5 separate regions of the Homo sapiens genome follow, and regions 1, 2, 3 and 5 are each linked to region 4. Evidence: promoter capture Hi-C in 16 types of primary human blood cells and fetal thymus (Javierre and others, 2016). All regions are on one chromosome and are shown on one strand. The core of a region is centred on a gene start or on the middle of the fragment in contact, and the rest is flanking DNA. Distances in the headings are between cores, read along the strand shown.

Region 1 (3,957 bases), core at 567-3,066, 1.5 Mb after region 4:
TTAGATTTGATTCTGTTCGCCTCTGGGATGTTGTACTAGTCCACGGCTGGTCTTTCCTAGGAATTAATTGAAAAGGAAATGGTAGATATGATTAGATTGCTGGACCCAGTAAAAAGGTAGACGCTGAGAGGTACCCGTGGCCAACTGAGACAAGCTGCCCATGAATTATGCTGCTCTGTGCTTATTAAGACTTCATGTTGCACAGAAATGGATTGAAAAGATGTAAGTTATCCAGTCTCTCAATATTACCCTCAATAATTTACTTCCAAAAAGAAAAAAACTGATCTGAAGATTTCAGGCAAGAATTTAAAATTGCTAATCTCATTTCATAACTCCAAAAGGATTTTATGTCTGTCACTGTAAAACCTGCTGTGGATATTCCTAAGTCTCAATTCAGCCAACTTCCGAGAATTCCCACAGCATGAAAATACATGAATCGCCAGTGCTTGGGCTAAATGCAAACCAATTAAGCTTTTAAATAGCTGAAGTGTGAGCTAAAGCCTGCTACATAATTTAAATGCCATCTAGTGGCCAAATGTCATCTTTAGTCCTCATTCAAAACAGTTTTGGTGCCTTCTGGTATTTATCTTAGGGTGATATACCAAATAGTTTTGAGTCAATCATATGATAGCCACTTCTGCTTTCAGAGTGAAACGAAATTGGAATATGATAAAAAATGTTTAACAGCTTGAAATGTGCGTAAGTCCCAGCTTTTATTCCAGGGTCATCTGCTTATATGGCTATAAAACAGAGTTGTTGCTTGGTTTGACTAGTATGCCATCAAATAGTACCCGTAAGCTGGGCACAGTGGCTCACACCTGTAATCCCAGTACTTTGGGAGGCCGAGGCAGGTGGATCACTTGAAGCCAGGAGCTCAAGACCATCCTAACCAACATGGTGAAATCCCATATCTACTAAAAATACAAAAAATTACCAGGCATGGTGGTGCATGCCTGTAGTCCCAGCTCCTCGGGGAGGTTGAGGTGGGAGAATCACTTAAAGCCAGGAGGCAGAGTTTGCAGTGAGCCGACATTGCACCACGGCACTCCAACCTGGGTGACAGAGCGAGACCTTGTCTCAAAACCAACCAACCAACCAACCAAACAAAAAACCCAAATAGCACCCATAGTTATAATTTACTATTTTGCCATTGAAAAATTAAAGCATATATGTAATGTTAGGAAGCTAATATAGGACCGTATTTTAATCATTGATAGACAGAGGATTTAAAGGATCAGGCTTCAGTCTTAGCAAATGAAGTAGCTGTGAGAGAGACATATCATTTGTCCATAAGTAAGTGCCATGCACAAGCACATTAGTATGATTATAATAATAGTGGCCTTGAGAGCAGCAGCCAACATAGATTAAATGCTTATATGCCAGGTACTGTTCTGCATGCTCTGCTTGTATTAATTCATTTGATCTTCACAATAACCTAATGAGGTAGGTATTGTGGTTGCACCCATTTTATAGGCAAATTGGGGCACAGAGTGGTTAAATTTCATGCCCACTAGAGAGAGGCCGAATAGGAATTGGAGCATTTGGAGTATCCTTTGGTCTTTTAGCTGGTTTGGATTTTGGGTAGTGCTTTGGTGGAAGGATCCTCAGAGAATCATGAAAGACCCTTTAATATAACAAGGACACAGTCAGCACTTGATCATCCTATGATCTAGGCAGAGTCTAGATCTAGGCAATGCTCTAGGAAGAGTCTGGGAATGTTGGCTCAAGGATGAGGCTGTGCAAACAAGGCTCTCTCTGGGTCCCTGGCAAGAACAGCTTTGGTTAGACCTACCTGCTCTTTTGGCTCTGTGGGGGTAAATCATCTCTGGAGAATTGAGAGTGGATTTTGCTTTTGTATAATTGTGGTCTGGGGTTATTTGTAACGTCTTTCTCTCTCTGTTTAGATCATAGAGTTGATTGATTTGAGTGCAACCAAACTAGCTGTGGTCATTCAATAAATAAGACACCATTAAGCATTTTTCTTCTTACTGGTCACAGATATGGTTCTATTCTTTCACTTTGGACATGTGATCATATAAAGCCTTAAGGATAAGAAATTAGGTTACTACCTCACATAGGGATTTGTTGATTGTATTGTATTGCATTATTGTATTGTATTTATTTATTTATTTTGAGACAGAGTTTCACTCTGTTGCCCACGCTGGAGTGCAGTGGGGCAATCATGGCTCACTGCAGCCTTGACGTCCCAGACTCAAGCGATCCTCCCACCTCAGCCTCCCAAGTAGCTGGGACTGCAGGCATGTGCCACCACACCTGTCTAGTTTTTTTAAAAAAAATTTTTGTAGAGGGGTCTTGCCATGTTGCCTAGGCTGGTCTCGAAGTCCTGGTCTCAAGTGATCCTCCCACCTTGCCCTCCCAAAGTGCTGGGATTATAGGCATCAGCCACTGCACCCTGCCTGCTTTATTAATTTTAGTGAGCCTCACATACAGTTTTCAAAGTCAATAACCATGGGTTTATTATCCTCAATTTACAGATAAGAAAACTAGGATGAAAGAGATTACGTGGTTTGCCCAAATTCACATGATATATGGCTATAGAAGTAAGACTAGAACCTAGGCATTTCATTGAATATGCTAAACACACATATACACACTCATTTTTCTAGGTATATAGTATTAATATGTGCATATGTATAAATGACAATGACAATTGAGTATTTAAACATTTCAAGATGTGAACATGAAAATTATGCTAATTCTATTTTTTTAAAAATAGAGACTGAGTTTCACTCAGTTGCCCAGGGTGGAATGCAGTGGTGTGATCATAGAGTTGTAACCTTCAACTCCTGGGCTCAAATGATCCTCCCACCTCAGCCTCCACGTAGTCTCCTCAGTAGCCAGGACTACACGTGCATGCTACCGTGCCCTACTAATTTTTTAAATTTTTTGTAGAGATGGACCTTTAATTTCAGTTTTGTCATCTATTCTGTACTTTCTCAGTTACTATTAAAAGATCTTCAATAGGACAGATAATCAAATCATCTATATAACATAAATAATTTAAATGTTTTACTGACTAAAAGACAGAATCTAGGTAATCTTTCAAGGCTTACTCTAGATTTCTAGTTTTATTAGTTTTTAATTTAAGAAATTTATTAAGGATTTCTTTTCATAAGATGATATACCTTTACAGCAGTTTAACAAGCTTATCATGCTTCATACAATTTATCCAGAAGGAGGCAGCATTTTACTATTAAATTGATGCTTCCGCAAAGGTTCTAAATTGTTTTGTTTTGTTTTTTAAAGATGTAAACTATCTAAATACACACACCCTAAATCCTTTCAGGGCAAAGATTCCTGACTATCACTAGAGCTTTGCATATTGCCACAACTGTGAAATCCAAATTCCACTCAGATTAAATGCATCTAAAATTACAAATAGCATAGATAGTAGCAAAATTCATTGGCAGAAACCATTTTTGCAATAAAGATATTGATCAAAATAATTTAGAGTTGAACAGAAGATGGAGTAGAAGGGAAAATGAATGATTCAGTTGTTGCTAACTTGTAGAAAATAAGTATTTGGTTAATAAGAGATCAACTTGTTGAAAAAAATTTGATTCACTCAGAAACAAGGATAATGAATTAGTTTTAATCATCTAGCTAAATTCATAAATGGGACTTGCTGTTTCTTTTGATGTTTTTATTGAATCATAGGATCTTTAGAAAGAAACTTGAAATTTCCTGTGGCATATTTCAGTGATTGCTGGTCAGAACTCATTTCATCTATCACGGAAAATGAGAGTCTATCTGCTTTCAGAGGATTAGGAAGAAGGGAATTCCACCATGATAAGGGAAATTAAGTTATGAGAATAACAGGATGGCAGAGGGGCCTTTTTCTGTTGCCCTGTATTTGACACAGAGCCCAGAGCTAAAAACAGTAACTGGGGTCTGGTGCTTTCTCCAGAGTATTCCTAAGGGGCTAAAGAACTATAC
Region 2 (4,190 bases), core at 1,687-4,186, 1.4 Mb before region 4:
AGTCAGTCGGAAGTATATGGAGGTGGTACTGAAAGGTCTACACAATCTTTTCAGAGAGAGTAATGGTCTACTAATCTATGTCCAGGAAAAATGTTTATTTTTCTAATCATTCCAAATATAAAAGCATCATTTAAAAAAGGCAATACAAGTCTGATGTGGGGTTAAAAGATAAATTTGTGGCAGCAAGTCATCTACGCTGCAGTTACTTTAAATGGTAATTGTAATAGTAATAACCATCATAAAAATGGGGAAAATATCCTTTCTTTTGAATCTCCAGCTTCAAAGTTTCACTAAAATCTGCCTGTATATAAGAAGTGAACATTTCTTACCTCTGGAGACGAATTTGATATCCAGTACTATTACCACTGCCACAAGATTCTGCCCTTTCTGCAGCTACTCTTTCCGCAACCTTTAATTCAAATAAAACATAAAGAGAATATAATTTCCTTTAGAACAAATATCCTGAATGTCCATGAAAATCTAGGACTGTTGAAAAATTGTTCTTCAGATTTCTAAATGAGTTAAAAAAATAGATATTAAAATCTGAGGTATCTAAAACAGTGTGTGCCTCTCTTAAGAGCTGTTTATTTTTCATTTCCTCTTATAAAGTCTTTTAAGGCCAAGTTCTCTCATCACTAGTTTCAAAGTGCCTTTCTATAGCATCCTCTCATTAATTTATACTTTTCTGGTCTTTTCTAAGAGTTGTAAATCAAGATCTAAACTTGTAGAAGTTATGTGTAATTTGAAAGTAATTACATATTGATACTCTTCCCTTGTGTTTTTGTTTGTGGTAGGGACTGGTGTTGAATTTCTAGTTCTTGGTCATGTTTTGAAAGTTATGACTGCCAAAAATAAGATTTGGAAAGATGAAATGTTATAATCTAATACTGATTTGTACAACTAAAAGTAACCAACAGTTATTCTGTGACAGAACAGTGATAATAAGGTATTAGAAATAGAAAATGGCATAATTTGTAAGAAATAATACTTTACAAGTAAAACTTTCCAATAAGTATATCTAGTATACACTGACAGACCACATTAACCTGTCTACTCAAATTCCAACAGATGGTGGAAAAAAGAAGAGAAAAATTACCTACTTAGCATTTCTTCCTACTATCAGCATATACAGTAACTGCTATATATTAGTGAAAATATTTAAGTCTAGCTACAAAAGTGTGTTATGACAAAAGTGGTTTATTTTTCACCATTCTGTAATTTTATGCAATTTCCTGGAATATAGTCCCCATAAAAGGGTGAAGACTACCTGAAACTGAAACTACTAGAAGAAAACCTAGGGAAAAACTCCTTTGGACATTGGTCTAGGCAAAGAATTTATGACTAAGACCTCAAAAGCACAGGCGACAAAAATAAAAATAGACAAATGGGAATTAACTAAGAAGTTTCTACACAACAAAAGAAATAATCAACAGAGTAAACAGATAATTTCCAGAACGGAAGAAAATATGTGCAAACTATTCATCCAGCAGTGGACAAATACCCAGTATATACAAGAAACTCAAACAACAACAATAAAAGACAAATCATCCCCTTAAAAGGAGGGCAAAAGACAAGAACAGACATTTTTCAAAAGAAGATATACAAATGACTAACAGGTATATGAAAAATGCACAACATCACTAATCATCAGAGAAATGCAAATTAAAACCACAATGAGATATCATCTTACCCCAGTCAAAATGGCTACTATTAAAGAGTCAAAAAATAATAGATCTTGGCCAGGACATGGATAAAAGAGAACTCTTACATACTGTTGGTAGGAATGCAAATTAGCACAGCCTCTATAGAAAACAGTATGGAGATTGCTCAAAGAACTAAAAATAGAGCTATCATTTGATCCAGCAATCCCACTGCTGGGTTTCTACCCAAAGGAAAAGAAATCAATGTGTCAAAAAAAAAAAAATACTTGTCTTGCATGTTTATCACAGTACTATTCATAACAGTAAAGATACGGAATCAATCTAAGTGCTCATCAATGGATGACTGGATAAGGAAAATGTGGTGTATATATACACCACAATGGAATACTATTTAGCTGTAAGAGTGAAATCATGTCGAAATAGACACAAAAAGACAAAATATCATATTTCACATAAGTGGGTGCTAAAAACCAGGTATATGTGGACATAGAGTGTGGAATGGCAAACGATGGAGACTCAGAAGAGAAGACAGGAGGAGGACAGATGATGAGAAATTACTTAATGGGTACAATGTATATGATGTGGGTGATGGACAACCTAGAAGCTCTCACTTAACCACTACACAACCTATGCATGTAACAAAATTGCACTTGTATCCCATAAATTTACACACTTCTTTTTAAAAAGGGGTGAAGTCTACTGCTCTTTCTTTATAGTACTTCTTAGAAACCAAAGCTTAAAACATATACTGTATTTACTGCCAAGTGCTGTCATAATTGGTAATGTTTTTAACCACAGATTCTATATTAAATGACTTAGACATGTGATAAGCAGCACTGCCATAAAACCAAAGACAAACACAAATCTTTATAATTTATACACAGAATTATATAGCATAAATAAATTCACTATGCACACTGAAATATGACAAGAAACCCCAAACACCTTTAAAAAATATATAACTCACATATTTAACTAGGTCATCTAACTAAAAACGATGACGACAACAAAATCAATGTACAGGCTGAGTATTCCTTAGCCAAAATGATCAGGACCAGAAGTGTTTCCGGTTTCTATTTTGGAATATTTGCATTATACTTGCCCTTGTTAAACATCCCAAATCTGAAAATTCAAAATGTGAAATGCTCTAGTGAGCATTTCCATTTTGCTACTCAAACAGTTCTGGATTTGGGAGCATTCTGGATTTCGTATAGTCAACCTGAACTAAAAGTTACTTATAAACTGTTACTTAAGTATGCCTTCCCAAAATTTTGGACTTGACAAACCAGAAACAATACCTTATTTTTCCTCATAAATTTCCTCTTACTGAGTAGCTGCATTCAAAAATGACTGACTATGGCTGGACACAGAGACTTATGCCTGTAATCCCAGCACTCCGGGAGGCTGAAGTGGGCAGATCGCTTGAGCCCAGTAGTTCGAGACCAGCATGGGCAACATGGCAAAACCCCATCTCTACAAAAAATACAAATATTAGCCAGGTATGGTAGCACATGCCTATAGTACCACCTACTTGGGGGGCGGAGGCAGGAGGATCACTTGAACCCTAGAGGTTGAGGCTGCACTGAGCCGTGTTATCACCACTGCGCTCCAGCTTAAGTGACAAAATAAGACCCTGTCTCAAAAAATAAATAAATAAATCACTGACTACAGAAATGCAGCTTAAAAAAAAAAACAAGGTTTCCCACTTTCACCACCATTCAGTGTATTTACATACTCAAAAAATGACAGAAGTAAAAAAAAAAGTTAAATAAACCAAGTAGTAAAATTTAAAGAATCAAATGATGGAGATTATTTGAAGCTTGTAATCAATTCTATAAATATTTTATCTATTTCATTCTTGTGAACATGTACTGAAATTTGCCTGGATATCAATTTTATCTTGAATTCATAAATATCTATTATCTGTTAAGAGAGAGGTTACTCAATTTTTTGGGCTTTATTATTAAACATGTTAAGCAACTATTTGCTTTCATAGTCACCAATCCTAAGCCTAATTAAGAATCACTCCACACCTTCAGAATCAGTAGGTTCTAGCAAGATTACTTTTAAAAAGACAATTTTTAATAAGTTAAGAGATTACTTACTGAAATGGCACTAATTCTTCTTGGCTGAGTACAAACTATTCTGCAAGCAGATCCTTTTCCTCTTTCAATGTAGTTATCCAAAATGAACTGAGTAACTTGAGTGGTTTTGCCACAACCAGTTTCACCACTTATTACTGTTACCTGATGGTTATCAATTAAATTTACCAATTCCTATTTCAAAAGGGAAAATAAAGAATATCACATGTTGACTAAGTCTGAAAAAAGATATTAATCAAAATTCGACCAAACTGAACATAGCTATTTTTAACAAACATATTAATGCTTTCTAAATTTTGCCATATCCAATACTGGCAGTTTGGATATCTGGATCTACCAACCTGCAAGAGATAAGTGCACCAAATTATAAAGAACAAAGCCAAAGCACTGTTAAAGAAAAACATATTGACATAAACAAGAAGAGACA
Region 3 (4,323 bases), core at 970-3,469, 1.5 Mb before region 4:
TTTTGCTTTTTCCATGAGAATGCTCTTTCCTATTATAGAAAGCTGAAAATCACCTGATACCTGTTTCATCTGCAGAATAAACTCGTTCCTAGGGAAGTCAAGAGTATCCTGGCTAAAGGAAAGGCAGTAAAAATGATTGCAAGCTCCTTTGTTCCTGAAACACATGAAGCTTGCTTATTTCTGACCATTTTGGAATTGAGTTCTAAATTCAAGATGGCAAGATGGGGTGGAAAAGAAATGGGAGCCCTGTTTCCTTTTTGCTCCTTTTTTTCTTCCGCTGTCATTTGCAGCCTTGATTCCTCTGATGTTATGAGGTATTGTTTCCCCTGCATCTGTAAGGAGAGTTGGCATTGCTGTTAAATGTTGAAAGCTGCCACTACTGAGAAGCACAATATCGATGCCTGGGGTCAGAAAACTGAGCTCAAATCCTGGGCAAATTACTTCTCGTCTCTCAGAGCCTCAGTGTTCTATCTGTAATATGGGGATAATAACATCATCTTCATCATGGAGTTTCTGTGAGAATTAAATGAGATAATGCACATAAAGCTCTTACTACAGTGAATATGAATAGTCCTGCTAAGTAACTGATACATGCTATCATTAAGATTATTTTTGGTATTGTGTTCTCTCTCTAAAGATTTTGCCGTAAATCAAATTATTGCCCTTCTGCTTCTAGAATATTTTATTGTTTTTAAAAAATGATTTTAAACCTTTACGTAATTGCTACATAGCTGAAGGTACGGCACGCTCTAGGACCAGACATGAATTTATGGCCTCCAGAACATGAGCAGTTTAGGAATAAATGCCTTTAACTCTATGCCTTTCCCTCCTCATGAAACCCATGTCAGGCGGCAAGTGAGTGAGGAAAAACTATTGGTCAATTTTTATTCTTTATAAATTGGTGTAAATCATGTGTACACGTTGTAGTAGCAGTTTTTTTTTTTTTTCACTATTCCTAAATGACTAGGAGACACTATAACATTGTTGCTGAAAAATGTGAAATAAATAGTATATTTTTCCTTTTTATTGATGTCGTCAGTAGTGTGGTACTCCTGAATTGGAGTGTGGGGTTGCTGTATAATTTGGATAACCTTGTTACCCACTTAAGAAGCTGTGCCTGCTCTTCAGGGCTTGCTTAGTTCAGCTTATCCCAGGGAGAGAGCTTCAGAAAGGTGGTGACAGCCTCTCAGAACTGTCCATCTCCTCTTTTTCAAGGACTATGGGTTCAGAGCATCCCATGAGCAGCCACAGAAGTGCTGGGCTGTGGCATCTGGTGACCCTTGGTGACAGGGATGGGGCTTCCTGGCCCTTTTCTGGGTCACTGGCCATCTTTTTTGGTGGCAGTCATACTGATGAATGGGGATCCTCATCTCCACTATTTGTTATATTATTAACAATGAAATAGGATGTATGTGGCATGTTTGTTAGACTTCAGAATTAGCTTGAGGAACTGAGCAAGTAAGCCTATTTGAAATCAGTTTCTGGATAAATATTGTGCCTTGTTTTGCTGGTCTGAGCACTTGCCAAATTGTGGATTTCTTGACATGGGTATTTAGCTCTAATTATGCTTGGTCCACTTGTGCATTTGCAAAACATATAATTATCAGGCTTTTAACAAAATGTCAGGCAATTTAAATGGATGGCGTTCTGTTAAGAAAATAAAAAAAATAGCTGACATTTACTGTAAGTCAGGCATGATTGTAAGTGCCTTACACACAATGAGGTAATAAATGTATTATCTCATTTAATCCTCTCAACAATCCAGTCAAGTTGGTACTGTTATTCCCACTTTACAGATGAGAAAACTGAAGCACAGAGAGGATCAGTAACTTGCTTTGGTTCACAAAGCCAGTGAGTGAGTGGGTTTCTTTCTTTCTTTTTTTTTTTTTGAGACGGAGTCACCCAGGCTGGAGTGCAGTGGCATGATCTCGGCTCACTGCAACCTCCAACTCCTGGGTTCAAGCGATTCTCCTGCCTCAGCCTCCGGAGTAGCTGGGACTACAGGTGCTTGCCACCACGCCCGGCTAATTTTTTTTTTCTATTTTTAGTAAAGACGGGGTTTTACCATGTTAGCCAGGATGGTGTGGATCTACTGACCTCGTGATCCACCTGCCTTTGCCTCCCAGAGTGCTGGGATTACAGGTGTGAGCCACTGCATCCAGCCTAGAATTGGGTTTCTTACCAGACATTCCAAATCATGGCTCTACTCTTACCTGCTGTGCCATATTTCATTCCTTTAAAATTGTATATTATTCCACTAAAAACATGTTAGTAGTATAATTCTAAAACCAAATTGAAATGGAAATCAACCTCAGTCAAGTGAAAAAAAATTTTTAACTCCTTGACTTAAAATAAATTTCAGCATAAATTCAATGTCCTTCATCCCAGCAAAGTTTGACTAGAGTGTTTCTGTTCCATTTAAACACACGATCAAGTGCGACGGTTTAGGAATCATGTTTTTTAGAAGGAGAAGGGAAACAAGTTGAAATCTACAGAACACTTTTTCTCATACATATATTGGAGGAAAGTAGGAAGAATTTCCTTTGATCTCATAAACCCCATTAACTCCTGTGTATCAGTGCTACTGGGGGGGAATGTCAGAGCCATTAAATTCCTCAGAGGGATTTAATGCACGACAGTCTAGAAGAGGATCTTGGAGAGTGTCCCCAAAGAAGAATGACTTAGAAATGTCACAGAAGGCATTAGAAGATAGAGTTTCAGGATTCACAGTTGCTCAGTGTCACTAGATTCTGTATACATGCAAAGAGAAATAATGGTGAAATCCAGGTGTTTAATTTGGTGGGGTGATGGGCCATGGTGGCCTTCGGAAGCCATTTCACTGGCCTGTAAGCACAAGGGTCTGAAAAAACGCAGGCAGCTGCTAACTCAGGAAACATTTGTTGTGGCACCAGCACATTCTAGTAAATATTTTTTTCGGGACAGAAAAGCTATGTGAATGTTCTAAAGCCTATGGAAAGGAAACTACTGAATAGGTAAAAAATAAATGTCACTATCTTGAGAATATATGCCAAAAATCATATGAATATCAATGATGTGATAAATCTCAATAGCATCTTTTCTTTTAAATTAAACCTTTTTACAAAAGGAAGAACTGGAAGTGCTGCTTGGGTTTCCATCTGTCGGATTTGGGCCATAAAACAGAGTTTTAAAACAATGTAAGCGGGTACGTGAGAGTTACACCTACAGCTGGGGCTGAGAGACGTGGGTTGTGGGAAAGCTGGCTTGTGCAGTCTAACCCTTTCCCTTGCCTCCCCATCACCATCCTTCCTTTCACTATCCTGGGTGCATCTTGGTAAGCTAGCCTATTTTCCATTCCTGTTCATCCGTATTAAGTATCTAAAATGCTTGCTAATAAGGATTAAGATGAGAACTTGCCCTAAGGTATGTACATGTTTAACAGCACCTCTCTGACCACAAGGCAGGCCGTTAAAGGTCTGTATCCAGCAGAAAGACCTGTCTTGTCACTTAGTTTTTCTTCACAACTCTTTATGTACCCAGAGCTTGGGTCCAAGGAAATATCCTGGTTTAAGGAGTGAGATTGGGATCAACATTTTAAAAAAATATTTGATATGTTTCCCCAAATGTCCCAATATTATTTATTGATTAACCCATTAATTTTTTTAGAGATTTGAAATGTCACCTCTATATCCCCAGACATGTCTGTGTCAACTCGCAAACCCACTATTCTGCTTCACAATTCATCAGTCAACTCGTGCCCTTGTCCCAGTCTTTGAATTTCTGCAGCTTTACAGTATGTTTATTTTTTAATTTTTTAATTTTAATTTTAATTTTTTTTGAAGCGGAGTCTCACTTTGTCGCCCAGGCTGGAGTGCGGTGGCGCAATCTCGGCTCACTGCAAGGTCCGCCTCTCAGGTTCACGCCATTCTTCTGCCTCAGCCTCCTGAGTAGCTGGGACTACAGGCGCTCACCACCGCGCCCGGCTAATTTTTTGTATTTTTAGAGACGGGGTTTCACCGTGTTATCCAGGATGGTCTCGATCTCCTGACCTTGTGATCCGCCCGCCTTGGCCTCCCTACAGTATGTTTTAATACATCATAAGGCTAGTTTATTCTTTTTTTTTTCCACAATCTTTCTGGCTATTTCTGCATGTTTATTTTTTTTCCGTGTTTTACAATCAACTCAACTATTTCTACTCCCTGCCATCTCTCAAAAAACCCTTGCTTGTGTTTTCACTGGGTTGTGTTTAAATTATGTATTAATTTAGGAGGAATTGGTATCTTGATAATATCAAGCTTTTCTATTCATTAATTTGGGCCTTCTTCTAAAGTTGTTTAAGGTTAT
Region 4 (4,276 bases), core at 64-2,563:
CAGGACATGGGTGCTGCTGGGTTGTACAAGCTCTGCTCTTCACCTGGGTTAGGAGGCACAGATTTGTTCTTGTAACGCTCGAGAACAATCACTTCACTGAATTTTCTAACTCCTTACCAGGAAGTAAATGTTTTATTCGTCTCCCCTTTTCGGGACAGAGGGGGATTTCAATTGCTGCCCTAATAACTAATCTCTCACCATTTTCTTCTGTCCGTGATCAAAACGGTAACAAGGGAAGGGAAAAGTTGGGTTTTTTTTTTTAATTTAGTTGGTTATTGCTTTAATGCTGAACTCTCAACGTCAAAATGTGATCACAAATTGATTCGCAGAAGGAAACAAATAGAAAAAGCCTCGGGAAGGAGGGGAGAGGGCGTCGCAGACGCTCAACAGGGAACTGGGTTTAGGGGCTCGCGGGGTGGCGTCTCGGACCCGCAGCTCAGTCGCCAAGGAAACGCCGCGCAGGCGCAGAGCGTGCCGCCGCGGGGCCGGGGTTTGCCTCCACCACCCCGCGCCGCTCGGGCGCTCTTGGTTCTTCCCAGGAAAGGGCAATGGAGTATATCCTCCTCGCGCTGAGCACACCTAGTCTCTAAGAGGTCCTGAGCAGGGTCACCGGGCGCAGGAAAAGCTGTGAGACTCCCCAAGTGTAACGGACGCTGCACTCCCCTTGCTGGGAAACGCGGACCTGCTCTCCTGGCGGCGTCTGGCGGTCAGAGAGAGGGTCCCGGGACCCCGCGTGAGGGTGAAGCATCCTGCAGCGAGGCTGGACCTTCCACCGGGCGAAACGCCACCCACCACCACCGCAAGGGACCCGAGAGTTACATTATTTCGCGGACACACACACCCACCCTCATCCTTCTGAATTATGGGACCCTGAAGAGCGGCCGTGGCCAGTTCCCCGCACGGGGCCTTAGGGGATCCCCACGCACAGCACTCACAGTCCTAAACAGGCGTGTGCCGGCTGTGGCTGCCGAGAAAGGAACTTGGGCCACCTGCTCACTCGCTCATCGGACTGGCGTACCAGTTCTCTTTTTCCTGCACACCCCCTTCTCTCCTGGGCCCCTTCTTCCCCCGAAAGCACTGACCTCCTCAGCTTTGAGTGTTCAGTAGCTGAAGGACTCCTCGGAGTCCGTGGCACAAGGAGCCACCTCCGAAGTGCTGGGGTGATGAGTTATTGGCCCCTGTGACTCCAACTCCAAACCCCTGCCAAGGGCCAGAAAAGCCCCCCTAGAAGAGCACTTCTCCCCACTAGCCAGCAGAAGCCCCAGACGAGCGGGGAAGAGCAGGGCGCCGCCGCCACAACCTGCTTTCTCATTCAAATCCTCACGCTCACACAGGAGCCCCCCTCCCTCTCGGCCCCGCAGCTTCCGAGGAAATCAGGAACTGGAGTTGCGGAGAGCGGACTGGAGCGCCTGCTGCCTCCTCTGGCCCGGGCGGGATGGGTGTACGGAACCCTAGGGCTGCACGTGGAACCCCAAGGCTGCACCTGGAACCCTTGGCTTACACTCTCCTGCGGGGCTCCCCGCTTGGCAAGGGCCAGAAGCACTGGGAATGAAGTACTTTTACTCCCCCGCAAGTTTCAAAAGTTTCGAAACCCAGGGTAACCCCTCGGGGCTGTAGCCAGAGGGCCTCGGTGGTGGGGGGTAAAGGAGTTGGAGAAACAAAGTTGGAAGTGAAGGGCGCAGGGAATGGGAACTGCGTGCAACTTGCACCAAAGTGAAAAGTGTTCTCAAACGTCCGTCTTACCTCCTTTAAAAAAAAAAAATTTCTAAGAATATAGCATCTGTCGATGCCGCAAATTAAAGAGATCTACTCTGAGTGAATGGGAACTGCGTGCAACTTGCACCAAAGTAAAAAGTGTTCTCAAACGCCCGTCTTACCTCCTTTAAAAAAAAAAAATTTCTAAGAATATAGCATCTGTCGATGCCGCAAATTAAAGAGATCTACTCTGAGTGAAGTGCAACTAAAATTGAGAGCGTGTAAATGGTAACACTTTGCTTTTATTTACCCCCAGTCTCTTCATTTGGAAATGCTACTCCTTGGCATTAACAGGCCACTTATTCACTTAGATCCGTTTAGTGGCTGGTTGACTCAAGCGGGCAACCTGCCGGGAGTAAGAAGGCGGCGGTGGCAGAGGAAAGCTTGCACGAAGCAGGCACTCAAGTGTTGATGAAACGATGAAATCTACTGAATGCACTGAAAGGATGAGTGACCAGCTTGGGGCGGATGCTGGAACCGCCGCTGGCCTAGACGGCCGCGGTGTGATCCGGCTTCTGGATTCCAGGATTTACATTTATCAGCCTTCATTCAACCTGCCCTATTGTTAGTTCAAAGCCTGGCTGGGAAGGAGTGGGGACGCAGCTCTTCACTCACCTTTCAGTTTAAAATAATCCTCCAATAAGAATGTCCTAGGAAAGCTGGCAGCATGGGGTTGGCAGGGATTTTCTGGGCTTAGTGACAACATAAACTAAAGTCATTTTCTTTTTTCATGCGTGAATTTGCCCAGGAAGTTACAAACGAGTAAGTTACAAATGAGTGCCTGAGATTGGAGCTCAGGGCCTTGGCTGCCTGTTCTCTTTGACAGACAGTGTGGAGGGTGGTAGCACTGTGACCTCTCAGCGCAAGATCTAGGGTTTCACCTTTTCATCCCACTTAGCCGATACCATAGAAACAACCCATTTGTATTATTCAATTCAACAGAGGCAATTACAATGTCACAGCAAAGCACCATGGGCAAGAAGAAACTTTGTCCTGAAAACAATCCTAGACTCTCAGAAAAAAGAAAAAAGCCACCAGAATACCCACTTGAATTTCTTCCTGCCAATAGTACCAGGAAGAAATCAATTTGGAAAAAATGTAGGTAAGGTCCTTTGCCTCTATAGAAAGAAACCTCCCCAAATTTACTTGTTTTTGTTTTTGTTTTTTTGCATGCCCATACACAAGCCTCAATTTATAAGAAATTAAGTCATTAACCCTCTGCCTCCAAACTGCTTTATATTTTGTAAACAAGCTTGTTGGAGATTTGTTTTGCTGGTAACCTCCATGGTGAATAGAAAAGCCAAAAAAAAAAAAAAAAAAAAAAAAACCACCAAGATAATCCCTCAACAGCAGCAGTTCACCCCCTAACCTCCGGTGTTTGTCTTTCTTGAGTCTGAAAAAATGCAGATGCACATGTTGAAATAAACTCAGACACAAAGTTCATAATAAGAGCACTTGTTTGCTATGCATTCTTTATTTTGATAGTTTTAATCAACTCCCATAATTTTGTAAACTTTTAAATTTTTAAATTGTGTGATATTTCAAACCTACCAAAAACAGGATATATACCATGTAATACTCCTGCTCCCCCCAGCCCTTCTTTTTTAAATAAAGCATTACAGATATAGCTAAACCCCAACTCCTGACTCGTTACCCCCACCCCTTCCCAAAGGTAATAATTCTGAAGTTGGTATGAATCATAATTATGCATGTTCTTAAATGTTTAGGACATTTATACATCCATAATCTTTTAATGTAGCTTTTCTCTCCAAGTCGTTTTAACATTATTTATCTGAGAAAAATCACTAAAACAATTAATTAATTAATTGGAGAAAATCACTAAAAACAAGAAAATGTGTTACATTGCTAAGTTTTTAGAAGCAGGACAGAACTATTTTTCCTGCTTGTGACAATCAGAGTATGGAATAATAACAAAGGGATTAGACAGTGGGTAATAAGCAGCCTCTCTAGGTTACACAAACTCTTCCATGGTTACCAAAGAATAAATAGAAAAACAAAACAAATAATACCCTCCTCTTTCACTGGTTAAAGGGGAACTGGAGAAAATGAGATCTTCATTAAAACTTCTTTGGGCAGGTAAGACAAACATCCTACATGGTAGTAAAGTACCTTTTCTAGAGGATCTCTTGGTCATGCAAGCTATGATCTTTTAGTAAGGATTTACCACTTTTCCAAGTATAAAGAACTCCTGCTGGTAGCTCAATACAAGGTTGAAATCCGCCTGGCTGAAAAGTCTGGGGTTGAATTAGCCCTGCCTCTTCAAGCACAGGGACATCCATCTGTACAGTAGTTACAAAAATCTTTTGCTGTGATTCTTTGACTTAATGTCCTCCCAGCATTAAAAGTGCTAAGAAAGCATCAATTTTTCTTAAATGCCATTGAATGGTGAAAGGCATCCTTCCCAACCCCCACCCTCTTCATTTCCTAAGCGATGACTCTCATTAATTATACTGGCACACCACTGCCCAGCCTCCCTTCTAAATAGCTGCCAGATTTCTAC
Region 5 (3,986 bases), core at 533-3,032, 1.4 Mb before region 4:
ATAAAGGAGGAAAATAGATAAAAGCTGATATCAATGACATTGAAAACAGAAAAACAAAGAGGAAATTAATGAAACAAAAAGTTATTTTTTTAACAGATCAATAAAATTGAAAAGCCTCTAGCAGCAGTGACAAAGAGAAGACACAGATTACCAGTATTAGGAATGAAACAGGATATCACTGCAGAGTCTGCAGCCATCGAAAGTACCATAAGGGAGTACTACAAACACCTTTACACATTCAAATTTGACAACTTACATGAAATAGATTGATCCCTTGTAAAACAAACTACTACAATGTGCCAAATGCGAAATAGGTAATTTGAATAGCCCTGTAACTATTAAGATAATTAAACTTGTAGTTTAAAACCTTCAAAAAGAAATCTCTTCAGCCTTATGTTTTCTCTGGAGAACTCTAGCAAATAGTTAAGTAAGGATTAATATAAATTCTGCACAATCTCTTACAGAAAATACAAGACAAAGGAATACTTCTTGATTCATTTTATAAACCTAGTTTTACCCTAATAATCAAACTCTACAGACACTACAAAAAAATAAAACTATAGATTAGTATCACTCATGAATATAGATGCAAGCATCCTTAACAAATATTAGCAAATAGAATTCAGCAATCTATAAAAAGAATTATGTACAATGATCAAGCAGGGTTTCTTTCAGAAATTCAAGGCTGCATCAATATTTATTTCTTTACTTATTTGAGATAGGGTTTTGCACTGTCACCAAGGCTGAGTGCAGTGCTATGCTCACAGCTCACTGTAGCCTCCACCTCTATCTGTACAAAAAATAAAAAAATTTAGCTAGGCATGGTGGTGTGTGCCTGTAATCCCAGCTACTGAGGAGGCTGAGGTGAGAGGATCACTTGAGCCTGGGGATTTGAGGCTACAGTGAGCCATAATCATGCCACTGCACCCAGCCTCAGTGACAGAGTGAAACCCTGTCTCAAAAATAAAAAAGAAAAGAAAAGGAAACAAAAATTGTACAGACCAGAAAGGAAGAAATGAAACTTTTGCAACTTGCAGATGACATGATTGATTTATGTAGAAAATCCCAAGGAATCGACAAAAAATCCTCAAGCTAATGATTGAGCTAAGCAAGGTCACAGGATATAAGATACATGTACAAAATCATTTGTACTTCTATGACTAGCAATGAACTCTTGGACATCAAAATAAAAAATGCAGTACCATTTACAATTGCTAAAAAGGTTAAAGATTTAGATGTAAATCTTATGAAACATGTATAGGACTAATATACTGGAAACTACATGACACTTTAAAAAGTTGACAATCTGAATAAATGAAGAGACATATTGTGTTCATAGACTGGAAGACTTGACAGTAAAGATATCAATTCTGTAGAAATTGATCTATACATTTAATATAATTCCTACAAAAATCCCAGCAAGATATTTTCACAGTTATAGACAAGATCATTCTAAAATTAAAATGAAAAGGTACATGAACCAGAATAGCTAAAATTATTTTGAAAAAATAAATACAGTTGATCTTTGGTATCTGTGGGGGATTGGTTCCAGGACCTCCTGTGGATAGCAAAATCTTCAGATGCTTAAGTCCCTTATATAAAATGGCATAGTATGTGTATATAATCTGTGCACCTCCTCGCATATACTTTAAAATCATCTCTAGATTACTTATAATACCTAATATCATGTAAATGCTATGTCAATAGCTGTTTACTATATTGTTTAGGGAATACTGACAAGAAAAATGTCTGTATGTGTTTAGTACAGGCATAATTTTGTATCTGAATATTTTTGATCCAAAGTTGGCTGAATTCACATATAGGAACCCACAGATACAGAGAGTTGACTGTATAATGGGAGGAATCAGGATATCTAATTTCAATATAGCTATAATAATCAAAATTGAGTTGTTGCTAGAGGGATAGAGACACAGAAAAATGGAACAGAATAGAAAATCCAAATGTAGACTCACTCAAATATACCCAACTGACTTTTTACAAAGGTACAAAAACAATTCAATGGAGGAAAGTTAGCCTTTTCAATTAACAGTGCTAGGGCAATTAGACATCCACATACAAAAAAAAAAAAAAAAAAAAAAAAAAAAAAAATAACCAGCTACATCTGTTTCATAGTTTATTCAAAAATTAACTCAAAATGAATTGTAAACTTAAATGTAAAATGTAAAACTAAAAATTTTATTTGAAAGATATAGGAGAAAATCTTTGAGATCTAAGGCTAGGAAGGGGTTATTAGACTTGACACAAAAATCATGATCCATAAAAGGATATTTGATAAACTGGACTTCATTAAATTAAAAACTTGTTTTGTGCAAATGCAAATTTTGATTCAGGGAGTCTATTGTTGAACCTGAGATTCTGCACTTACTAAAAGTTTTCAGATGATGCTGAAGCTGCTGGTGTAGGAACCATACTTTGAATAGCAAAAGACAGACAATCTGTTTGGCTCCTTACAGTCCTAAAATTACAGGGATAAATAATTTAATGGACAAATAAATTTTGTTATTTTATAGGGTTCACAATTAAGAGAAGTAGAGGAGATAATTTCAGTGGAAGGAATAATAGAAACCCCTCAAAATCCAATTTTATAGCTGTATAAAATGAAGAACAAAATGTTATCTTTTCAAATGTCTTTAATTATCTAATATTCTCATTTTTTCTAAAAAGATAATAAAAGGAGGTTTTTTAATTCAAAGGTATAACTGAATAGGTAGATTTGTTTATAGCTATTCTTGTGAAACACTTTTTAAAAAAAATACGACCAACTTCTGTGCAAATAGCAGACACATACCTCAACTATCATGAGCTAATTTTTGGTGGATAATATACATAATTAGGCACAAATAGGCAAGTTCACACTGGTAGATTAAGTATCAAATATTCAGTCAAAACTCCATTTGTGGCCCCCACTTCTTGATCGAGTTCTATTCCCACTTCATCTTCTACCATCTTGTCGACTTCCTGAGTGACTCCCTTGTCGACTCTGTCTACCTGATAGGCCACCAGATGGACCACCTGACTGGCCTGACCCGCCTGACCAGCCACTTGACCAGCCATTCCTCCGTTGGGGATTAGAAGACTTGTTTCCATCATAATATTCTTCAATTTCAGGTAATTTGGCTGGCACTGAGAGTATCCAGTTGGAATCGTGCCACACTGCCTGTAACCTTTCTGATTCAGTTGTAGGAACATCAAAGCAAACACCCATATTTCCTTTCAGGAGGCACACACTGGTAATCTGAGACGCTGTATTACTACTTAGCTTTCTATTAAGTTCTTTCCAGGCACAGGTGACATCCTGTATTTCCTCTAGGCTTTCCAGAGTCATGGTCATCAGAGGCGATCAAAGACTGTGGTTCAAAACTTGATGCACCAGAAATGTGGGCTAAAGTTGCAGCCAATGCATCCACTGCCCCTTTCTCTTCTATCAGTCTCTGAGCTGATGGTCAGAAAAAATCAACAGCAGCATAAGAAACGGAAGTCAGAAACCTGATGGTATCCATGCTTTTAGATTTAACTAAATCCATTGTAGAAGGAACACCTACACATTTAAAAGTAATTCTTGCTTTTTGTTCCACATATCTTAGTTGACCTCTTTCTCTTGGTTGATAAAAACATATACAAATCCCTGTCCAGCTCTACCTGTGCATCCAGAGCGATGGATACGGGCCTCAACATCCTGAGGAGGAGAATGTTGAATCACCAGGTCTACTTCAGGAATGTGCAAACTATGGGCAGCCACATTGGTTGCCACCAAAACTTTAAAACTATCTTCTCTGAAGCCTTTTAGTGTAATTTCTCTTTGTGACTGTGCAATATCCCCATGTAAACACTGGGCATTCTGTTTTATGTGTGGATTCATGGCCATTTCAGTTACATTCTTCCTGGTCTCACAGAAAATAATAGCCCTCCCTTCAGACCCACTGTAGACTTGAAGGACATCTCCAATAACTGCTGGCCTCTGAGAC

Evidence for each region. Contacts are between HindIII fragments. The CHiCAGO score rates a contact against its expected background, and 5 or more counts as called.
Region 1: a fragment that was not itself captured here is called in contact with the fragment with the promoter of PLCH1 in region 4 in 1 of 17 cell types (naive CD8 T cells); the score reaches 5.5 in naive CD8 T cells.
Region 2: a fragment that was not itself captured here is called in contact with the fragment with the promoter of PLCH1 in region 4 in 2 of 17 cell types (non-activated CD4 T cells and naive B cells); the score reaches 6.1 in non-activated CD4 T cells.
Region 3: a contact is called between a fragment that was not itself captured here and the fragment with the promoter of PLCH1 in region 4, in 1 of 17 cell types (neutrophils). The highest score is 7.4, in neutrophils.
Region 5: a fragment that was not itself captured here is called in contact with the fragment with the promoter of PLCH1 in region 4 in 1 of 17 cell types (naive CD8 T cells); the score reaches 5.3 in naive CD8 T cells.

The regions. Positions count from the first base shown.
Region 1 is chr3:157,201,331-157,205,287 of GRCh38, forward strand. All of the region lies in intron 2 of LOC101928236 (a long non-coding RNA gene), which reads left to right. Among named protein-coding and RNA genes, the nearest start is that of CCNL1, 43 kb to the left of the region's middle. RefSeq lists a silencer at 572-621. The HindIII fragment of the contact is 2,695 bases long and covers 470-3,164 here.
Region 2 is chr3:154,305,887-154,310,076 of GRCh38, forward strand. DHX36 (DEAH-box helicase 36) reads right to left here. Exons shown (of 25, transcript NM_020865.3): 5 at 3,767-3,937; 6 at 330-409. Among named protein-coding and RNA genes, the nearest start is that of DHX36, 17 kb to the right of the region's middle. The HindIII fragment of the contact is 1,084 bases long and covers 2,395-3,478 here.
Region 3 is chr3:154,230,967-154,235,289 of GRCh38, forward strand. All of the region lies in intron 11 of ARHGEF26 (Rho guanine nucleotide exchange factor 26), which reads left to right. Among named protein-coding and RNA genes, the nearest start is that of DHX36, 91 kb to the right of the region's middle. The HindIII fragment of the contact is 4,105 bases long and covers 168-4,272 here.
Region 4 is chr3:155,743,758-155,748,033 of GRCh38, forward strand. PLCH1 (phospholipase C eta 1) reads right to left here and starts at 1,314. Exons shown (of 23, transcript NM_014996.4): 1 at 1,083-1,314. RefSeq lists enhancers at 551-1,172, 1,067-1,276. The HindIII fragment of the contact is 4,475 bases long and covers 1-2,136 here.
Region 5 is chr3:154,349,237-154,353,222 of GRCh38, forward strand. All of the region lies in intron 3 of GPR149 (G protein-coupled receptor 149), which reads right to left. It also overlaps the pseudogene DDX50P2. Among named protein-coding and RNA genes, the nearest start is that of DHX36, 27 kb to the left of the region's middle. The HindIII fragment of the contact is 5,725 bases long and covers 1-3,986 here.